Regions from separate parts of the Homo sapiens genome. Here region 2 is linked to region 1. The links are contacts of gene promoters, found by promoter capture Hi-C in human tissues and cell types (Jung and others, 2019). All regions are on one chromosome and are shown on one strand. The core of a region is centred on a gene start or on the middle of the fragment in contact, and the rest is flanking DNA. Distances in the headings are between cores, read along the strand shown.

Evidence for each region. Contacts are between HindIII fragments. The study calls those that stand out against the background at their distance.
Region 2: a contact is called between a fragment that was not itself captured here and the fragment with the promoter of NBAS in region 1, in 1 of the 25 tissues and cell types used here (hippocampus).

Annotation. Positions count from the first base shown.
Region 1 is chr2:15,558,458-15,562,892 of GRCh38, forward strand. It overlaps NBAS (NBAS subunit of NRZ tethering complex), which reads right to left and starts at 2,877. Exons shown (of 52, transcript NM_015909.4): 1 at 2,731-2,877; 2 at 123-177. The coding sequence starts at 2,847. LOC105373440 (a long non-coding RNA gene) reads left to right here and starts at 3,691. Exons shown (of 4, transcript XR_001739297.2): 1 at 3,691-3,726. RefSeq lists an enhancer at 2,667-3,076. The HindIII fragment of the contact is 7,047 bases long and covers 1-4,435 here.
Region 2 is chr2:15,315,387-15,320,165 of GRCh38, forward strand. The region is part of intron 38 of NBAS (NBAS subunit of NRZ tethering complex); the gene reads right to left. Among named protein-coding and RNA genes, the nearest start is that of NBAS, 240 kb to the right of the region's middle. The HindIII fragment of the contact is 3,878 bases long and covers 1-3,708 here.

The DNA.
Region 1 (4,435 bases), core at 1,627-4,126:
ATATATATATAATTAAACTCAGATAACACACATTACTTTTATTAGGCTCCACATCAGAAGTCTAAAGAACACATTTTAACTGTTAACCATATCATTACTGTAGAGAAATAAGCTATATTTACCTCGAATTGCTTTCGTGATGATAAAGGATGCACCATGTTTTTGGTTGCCTCTAGGCTGGAATTTAAAACAAAAAACACTTACATTTGAATCTTCTAGTAGTATTAGACCAGTATTACTTATACAATATGTAAACTTATTTTTATTTACTAATACTCAGAGTTTTGGGCACAGGGAAGCAGTGTCTTAAAACTACTTAAAGACTGGATGTTCAGGTGCAGTGGCTCACGCCTGTAATCTCAGCACTTTGGGATGCCAAGGTGGGCTGACTGCTTGAGCCCAGGAGCTCCAGACCTGCCTGAGCAACGTGGCAAAACCTCATCTCTACAAAAAATACAAAAATTGGCCAGGCATGGCGGTGCATGCCTATAGTCCCAGCTACTTGGGAAGCTGAGGTGACCCAGGAGGTTGAAGCTACGAAGCTACAGTGAGCCCTGATCATGCCACTGCACTCCAGCCTGGGTGACAGAGTGAGACCCTGCCTCAAAAAAAAAAAAAAAAAAAAAAAAAGTAGACACAGGACGCGGGACAATAGGAGAAAAGTGAGCATAGCAGAGCTACAGGCACATGTCAGGACTAACCTTGCAGGAAAGAACAAGGATTGAAGCTGGAAACTGTTTCCAAATCAAAAACCAATCCAAAGACAAGAGAAGTCAAGGCCAAAGACCATACTGGTTGCCAGTTCAGCATACTCTATTGAGGCTGTAAGTTTTGCTCACAGGAAAAGTGGTCATATCTCCAAGGCCAATTCATTGACTATCTGTTGTGTATCTATACAGACAATGCTACTAACAAAACATACACAGATACGTAATTGCTATATTAAATAATTCCATTCCATAAGTATAGACTGAACACACCGTGGGTAGGTTCATGACGCTAGGCACTGCATAAGATGCACTAAAGTGCTGTCAAGAAAAGCACAATGGACATACAGTAAGTGTAGACAGATTTTTTTAAAAAACACAGAAAAGTTATTTCACTCAATAAACATGAATTGATTGTTGGATTCATGCAAGACACAATTTGGCCCTGGGAAGAGATATAAAGATGAATCAGATGTCTGCCCTCCAAGAGCTTATAATTCAACAGCTGAAATCAACAGAATGCAGAAATCGATAGAATGCAGAAATCAATTGAACTCCCCCACCCCCAACACACAAACACAAAACAAAGTGCTAAGGGTTTCAAAGTAAGTTAATTCTGTGGTTACTTTTTTGGAATCAATTTATGGTAAGCATTCTGAAACATTACTGCAATTAACCAATGAGTGTTAAGGAGTGGAAACTTATCTAACCAGCTGCCTCAGCAACAGCTTCCTAGCTGCATAACCCAAAAAATATTCACATTAAGACAAACTAAGTACTTGAAATTAAACAGTAATATATGCAGATCTCTACCCGTCTACAAAATAAATTATTCATGATAAGCACAAACTGCAGTGGGAAGGAGGCTACAGAGGAAAAAAATACAAACTTTGGGCTGAAAAATGAGTCGTTTCTCCAGCAAAGAAACACTCAGAAAAAATGTAAGATAACTCACATGGGCTGGACTACATAATCTTTAATAAAGGTTCTTTTCGATCTGGCTGCTTCCTCTGGGTCTAAAACAGTAACTGGCACGTGTTAAGCACTCAATAAATATCTGTTAAATAAACATGGATCCAAAAAATAATAATAATAAAAAATAAAATAAAATAAACATGGATCCATGGTTCCTACTCTTCATCACAGACCCGGGAGGCCTTCACTACCAAACAACTGATAATCCCAAGATCCAGTCCATAAATTATCAACCTCTATAACCCTTCTGTAGCGGAGATCCCAATCCCAGTCAGCAGCTCTTTACTCTGCACTTCCGTGGCATTTTGCTCACATCGCTAACTATAGCGCATAAAACGCTAGGTTATGAAAAACGTTTACGGGACTGTCTCCCCTCTAGACGAGAAGCTCCACGAAAACATATTCATCTCTGTATCCTTAGCACCTAGCACAGCACCTGTGACACCGAGACAGACGAACGGACACGCACACCCTTATTAAATGCTCTTTTATTGAAACACACAAGACCTGGCGCGATCCAGCCCCCAGTATGGGTAAAGGCTCAGATTCTGCGCTCTGCACCAGCCTGGCAGATGCTGCAGACTGTAAGGTCCTGGAAAATTCTCCCATCGCAGTTGAGCGTCGGCCCAGACTAGCCCTAGCCAGACCGCGAGAAGGGACCACTGAGGGTCCAGATAGGAGAAAGGACCCTCGAGTCCAGCGCTGTGCCTTCCCCTCCTAATACAGAGAGCGACACTAACAATCCCCTCTCCTCCCAATACAGAGAGCGAAACTGAGAACCAAAGTGGGATCGTACGCTCCCCAGAGCACGAAGTTCCAGCCCCCAACAACCGAATTCTGAGCCCAGGAAGAATCTCAGGGACCACCACCCCACCCCGCCCTAGACCCCCGCTAGCCCAAGGTGCCGTTGCCAAGGCGACCGCACAAGCCAACCGGCCCTAGTCCCCCACCCACCCGTCTCCACTCCCCTACGTGGCTCCTGCTACGTGGCTCTACCCACGAAGCGCCCGCGCCAAGCTGGCTGCTGCTGTAGATGGGCCTGGTTCACCTGTACTTCAGTCTCCGGTGGCCACTCGGTGTTGACCAACAAGTCATAGAGAATCGTCTCCTCCTCACCCTCTGCAGTGCCTGGACTCAAAGCCGGCCCTGACTCGGGGGCCGCCATGTTCGCCGAGGACTCAGGCAGCGGAGGAGTGTCTCTACGGAATCCCTCACAGGACAAGCTTCTCTATCCGCGGCCGCTTTTGTTTCACGGCAAGGAAATGCTAGGTTAACCCTTTTATGAGTAGGAAGGACAGGGACTATTGCTTGTCTTGGGAACGACTTGTGTCCCGGTCCTGATACACTCCTTGTTCATTAATCTACATGAGATCGGCCAAGTCATTGAGCCTCTCTTATAACTCAGTTTCCATAAAACAGAAATGGTAAAGGTACCCCACTGAAATGCTAATGTTCATTTGTATATTCTTTGCCTAACACGTAGAGAGAGTTCAAACAGTGGTTTTAAAATAAACAACTAAAGTTATCCAATGAAAGGTAGCAGAGGAAGGATGCTACAGGAGCTCAGAAAAGGCAACGAAGGCCAGAGTCTGCAGGGATTTCCTGGAGGACGTGGAGCTTGTCCCTGCGTCTTTAACAATAGGCAGAATTTTAATCTACTGGAGAAGCATTTCAAGTAGCGGGAAATGGAATGAGCAGAGACAGAGGCAGAAATACAGAGTTGAAAGAACTCTTTCAACGTGTCGCCAGTGAGTGACGACTTTCTCAGTGTGGGAGTAAAAGAATTTACCAAGACAGTGGTAGATAAAGAAAGACAGATTAAAGAAAGTATGAAAGTTCGTTGCCAGGGAGCAGCGGGCCGACTCAGCAGAGGAGGAGCTCATTGCTAGGAAACAAAGGCTTGTTGAGAATTTTATAGACTGGAACTTGGAGTGATTGATAACACCAGGTAGCAGGGAGTTAACTTGCTTTTTTTTTTTCTTTCTTTCTTTTTTTTTTTTTTTTTTTGTCAGCTGAAGTGTTTCAGAAATTGAGGCATTTGAAGGTAAGCAGGAAGTTTGTGAGTTAAGTACGTTATCTGGGTAGAAGGGCCATATGTCCTGGGCCATAAAGAAAAGTAGACCTATGGCTTATTTGTTTCTTCCTTTTGTTTATATGTTTTGGACCATGAAGAAAGACAGACGTATAGCTAATTTGCCTTATCTCTTTGTTTTTCCCTGCTCCCACTAGCCTGCCTTTTTTTTTTTCCTAATTAGTACTCAACAAGACGGGTGAATAGAACCCAAGTTGAGAAAGGGTGTAGGGGCAATAAAGTTGAAATAATAGGTTGAGAACCCGCATGGAGGGAGCGAAAAGGTCAACCCCATTTGTTCATTCATTCATTCATTCAACAAATACCTCTTTGTGGACAGTTATAAGCAGAGCCTACTGTAACATGAATGAATATATACTGTACAAAGTATTACACTGTTTCACATCAAAAGAAACACAAATACTGAATATCCCTTGAGATAATTATATTCATGATATCCATCAAGATGCATTAGGCGGTGATGCAATTAAAAGCCTCTGCTGGGAAGCCTCTAACCAGCTCCCATTTCTCTCAAAGTTTAATGACCTCAAAGCCCTACGTCATCTGCCTGCTCCCCTAAATCTCACACCTCATTTCCTGCTCCCCCTACTACCTTCAGCCACACTGGCTCTATTTCTGAACACACCAGACACACATCAACTTCAGGAGTTCTGCAAAGCCT
Region 2 (4,779 bases), core at 520-3,019, 240 kb before region 1:
CTGCAAAATTATTTCAACTTTACTGTGAATTTTAAATTTTCTCAATAAAAATGCTGGGGAAGAAAAATGAAAGAAATCCTCCCTGAAAACTGCGTCAAATGCTTAAGCTCCCTGTCAGTTACTTATTCCCCAAAGGGGGTTTCCTAGAAGACACTTCTGGACAAGTTATATATGCCTGGTCTCCAGCACTGCACTCAGCCAGCTGTTTCTGGCCACACTAAACCCATGGCCTCCCAGCTGCTTCAAGACTGGAAAAATCCCAGGCATCAAGTATACCACTCTCCACAGGATTTGAGATGGAAAGGAAAGGAATCTCTCTTCTCAAATCCCTAACACAATTGTTGTTGAAGTTATCTCATGACTTTTTTTCTCCCACACAATAATCCCAGGCATTAATCTCTATAATGTGCCTAGCCCAGGGCTCTCCTAACTAACATGAATTGTAGGGAACTGATGGGAACAGTGGAGAACATGAGTCTCCACTCTACCTCTGGGCATCAAAACTGTCTCAGCAGCCCTCACCCAGACTCAGAGATCCTAATAAAGTAGAAATCAAAACCCACACTTGGAAGTTTCTTAGTCTTGGAATCCACAAACCATATGAAGCAATATTTGACAAAATATTCAGAAAAGATGGTAAGTAAGTTTCACTGGGATGCACAACATGTAATACTGGCTAGAGACTGAATTACATGGACGTTGCCATTAAACATAAAAAATAAATAAATAAATAAAACCTGCTCTACATTTAGCAGTGTGCACGAATTTAATTTGTAATGCTAGTTCTCAAACCTTGAATATAAAGCATTGTCTAAACAAGTTATATGGCCAAAATCAGAGGAAATCTATGCTTAACTCTCCCCCCGTTCCAAGACAGCCAAATAGGAACAGCTCCGCTCTGCAGCTCGCAGCGTGATCGATGCAGAACACAGGTGATTTCTGCATTTCCAACTGAGGTACCTGGTTCATCTCACTGGGACTGGTTGGACAGTGGGTGCAGCCCACAGAGGGCGAGATGAAGTAGGGCGGGGTGTTGCCTCACACAGGAAGTGCAAGGGGTTGGGGGATTTCCCTTTCCTAGCCAAGGGAAGCCATGACACACTGTACCTGAAAAAAATGGGACACTCCCGCCCAAAATACTGTGCTTTTCTCAAGGTCTTAGCAACCGGCAGACAAGGAGATTCTCTCACCTGCCTGGCTCGGCGGGTCCCATGCCCATGGAGCCTTGCTCACTGCTAGCGCAGCAGTCTGAGCTAGAACTGTGAGGCAGCAGCCTGGCTGGGGGAGGGGTGTCGGCCATTGCTGAGGCTTGAGTAGGTAAATAAAGTGGCCAGGAAGCGCGAAGTGGGAGGAGCCCACCGCAGCTCAGCAAGGACTACTGCCTCTACAGACTCCACATCCGTGGGCAGGGCACAGCTGAACAAAAGGCAGCAGACAACTTCTACAGACTTCAACATCCCTGTCTGACAGCTCTGAAGAGAGCAGTGGTTCTCCCAGCATAGCGTTTGAGCTCTGAGAAAGGACAGACTGCCTCCTCAAGTGGGTCCCTGACCCCGTGTAGCCTAACTGGGAGACGCTTCCCAGTAGGGGCCAACAGACACTTCATACAGGGGGTGCCACTCTGGGATGAAGCTTCTAGAGGAAGGATCAGGCAGTAATATTCGCTGTGCTGCAATATTTGCTGTTCTGCAGCCTCCATTGGTGATGAACAGGCAAACAGCGTCTGGAGTGGACCTCCAGCAAACTCCAACGGACCTACAGCTGAGGAACCTGACTCTTAGAAGGAAAACTAACAAACAGAAAGGAATCGCATCAACATCAACAAAAAGGACATCCACACCAAAATCCCATCTGTAGGTCACCAACATCAATGACCAAAGGTAGATAAAACCACAAAGATGGGGAGAAACCAGAGCAGAAAAGCTGAAAATTCTAAAAACCAGAGCACCTCTTTTCCTCCAATGGATCACAGCTCCTCACCAGCAATGGAACAAAGATGGATGGAGAATGATTTTGACAAGTTAACAGAAGTAAGCTTCAGAAGGTCGGTAATAACAAACTTCTCCGAGCTAAAGGAGCATGTTCTAATGCATTGCAAGGAAGCTAAAAATCTTGAAAAAGGGTTAGACGAATGTCTAACTAGAATAAACAGTGTAGAGAAGACCTTAAATGACCAGATGGAGCTGAAAACCATGGCACGAGAACTTCATGATGCATGCACAAGCTTCAGTAGCCAATTTGGTCAAGTGGAAGAGTATCAGTGATTGAAGATCAAATTAATGAAATAAAGCAAGAAGACAAGGTTAGAGAAAAAAAGAGTAAAAAGAAACAAACAAAGCCTCCAAGAAATATGGGACTATGTGAAAAGACCAAATCTACGTTTGATTGGTGTACCTGAAAGTGACGGGGAGAATGGAAACAAGTTGGAAAACACACTTCAGGATATGATCCAGGAGAACTTCCCCAACCTAGCAAGACAGGCTAACATTCAAATTCAGGAAATACAGAAAACACCACAAAGAGATTCCTCGAGAAGAGCAACCCCAAGACACATAATTGTCAGATTCACCAAGGTTGAAATAAAGGAAAAAATGTTAAGGGCAGCCAGCACAAAAGGTTGGGTTGCCCACAAAGGGAAGCCCATCAGACTAACAGCAGATCTCTTGGAAGAAACCCTACAAACCAGAAGAGAGTGGGGGCCAATATTCAACATTCTCAAAGAAAAGAATTTTCAACCCAGAATTTCATATCCAGACAAACCAAGCTTCATAAGGGAAGGAGAAATAAAATCCTTTACAGACAAGCAAATGCTGAGATTTTGTCACTACCAGGCCTGCCTTACAAGAGCTCCTGAAGGGAGCACTAAACATGGAAAGGAACAACTGGTATCAGCCACTGTAAAAACATGCCAAATTGTAAAGACCATCAATGCTAGGAAGAAACTCCATCAATTAATGGGCAAAATAACCAGCTAACATCATAAAGACAGGATCAAATTCACACATTAACAATATTAACCTAAATATAAATGGGCTAAATACCCCAATTAAAAGACACAGACTGGCAAATTGGGTAAAGAGTCAAAACCCATTACTGTGCTTTATTCAGGAGACCCATCTCACGTGTAGAGTCATACATAGCCTCAAAATAAAGGGATGAAGGAAGATCTACCAAGCAAATGGAAAGCAAAAAAGAAAAGCAGGGGTTGCAATCCTAGTCTCTGATAAAATAGACTTTAAACCAACAAAGAGCAAAAGAGACAGAGGAGGCCATTACATAATGGTAAAGGGATCAATTCAATAAGAAGAGCTAACTATCCTAAATATATATGCACCCAATACAGGAGCACCCAGATTCATAAAGCAAGTCCTTAGAGACCTAAAAGAGACTTAGACTCCCACACACTAATAATGGGAGACGTTAACACCCCACTGTCAATATTAGACAGATCAACGAGAAAGAAGGTTAACAAGGATATCCAGGACTTGAAATCAGCTCTGGACCAAGCAGACCTAATAGACATCTACAGAACTCTCCACCCCAAATCAACAGAATATACATTCTTCTTGCACCACATCACACCTATTCTAAAATTGACCACATAATTGGAAGTAAAACACTCCTCAGCAAACGTAAAAGAACAGAAATCACAACAAACTTTCTCTCAGACCACAGTGCAATCAAATTAGAACTCAGGATTAAGAAACTCACTCAAAACCACACAACAACATGGAAAGTGAACAACCTGCTCCTGAATAACTACTGGGTACATAACGAAATGAAGGCAGAAATAAAGATGTTCTTTGAAACCAGTGAGAACAAAGACACAATGTACCAGAATCTCTGGGACACATTTAAAGCAGTGTGTAGAGGGAACTTTATAGCACTAAATGCCCACAAGAGAAAGCAGGAAAGATATAAAATCGACACCAAACATCACAATTAAAAGAACTAGAGAAGCAAGAGCAAACGAATGTAAAAGCTAGCAGAAGGCAAGAAATAACTAAGATCAGAGCAGAACTGAAGGAGATAGAGACACAAAAAACCATTCAAAAAATCAATGAATCCAGGAGCTGGTTTTTTTAAAAGATCAACAAAATTGATAAACCACTAGCAAGAGCAATAAAGAGGAAAGAGAGAAGAATCAAACAGATGCAATAAAAAATGATAAAGGGGATATCACCACCGATCCCACAGAAATACAAACAACCACCAGAGAATACTATAAACATCCTATGCAAATAAACTAGAAAATCTAGAAGAAATGGATAAATTCCTGGACACATACACCCTCCCAAGACTAAACCAGGAAGAAGTTGACTCTTTGAATAGACAAATAACAGGCTCTGAAATTGAGGCAATAATTAACAGCCTACCAACCAAAAAAAGTCCAGAACCAGAGATTCACAGCCGAATTCTTCCAGAGGTACAGAGAGGAGCTGGTACCATTCCTTCTGAAACGATCCCAATCAATAGAAAAAGAGGGAATCTTCCCTAACTCATTTTATGAGGCCAGCATCATCCTCATACCAAAGCCTGGCAGAGACACAACAAAAAAAAAAGAGAATTTTAGACCAATATCCCTGATGAACATTGATGCGAAAGTCCTCAATAAAATACTGGCAAACCAAATCCAGCAGCACATCAAAAAGCTTATCCACCATGATCAAGTAGGCTTCATCCCTGGCATGCAAGGCTGGTTCAACATATGCAAATCAATAAACATAATCCATCACATAAACAGAACCAATGACAAAAACCACCTGACTACCTCAATAG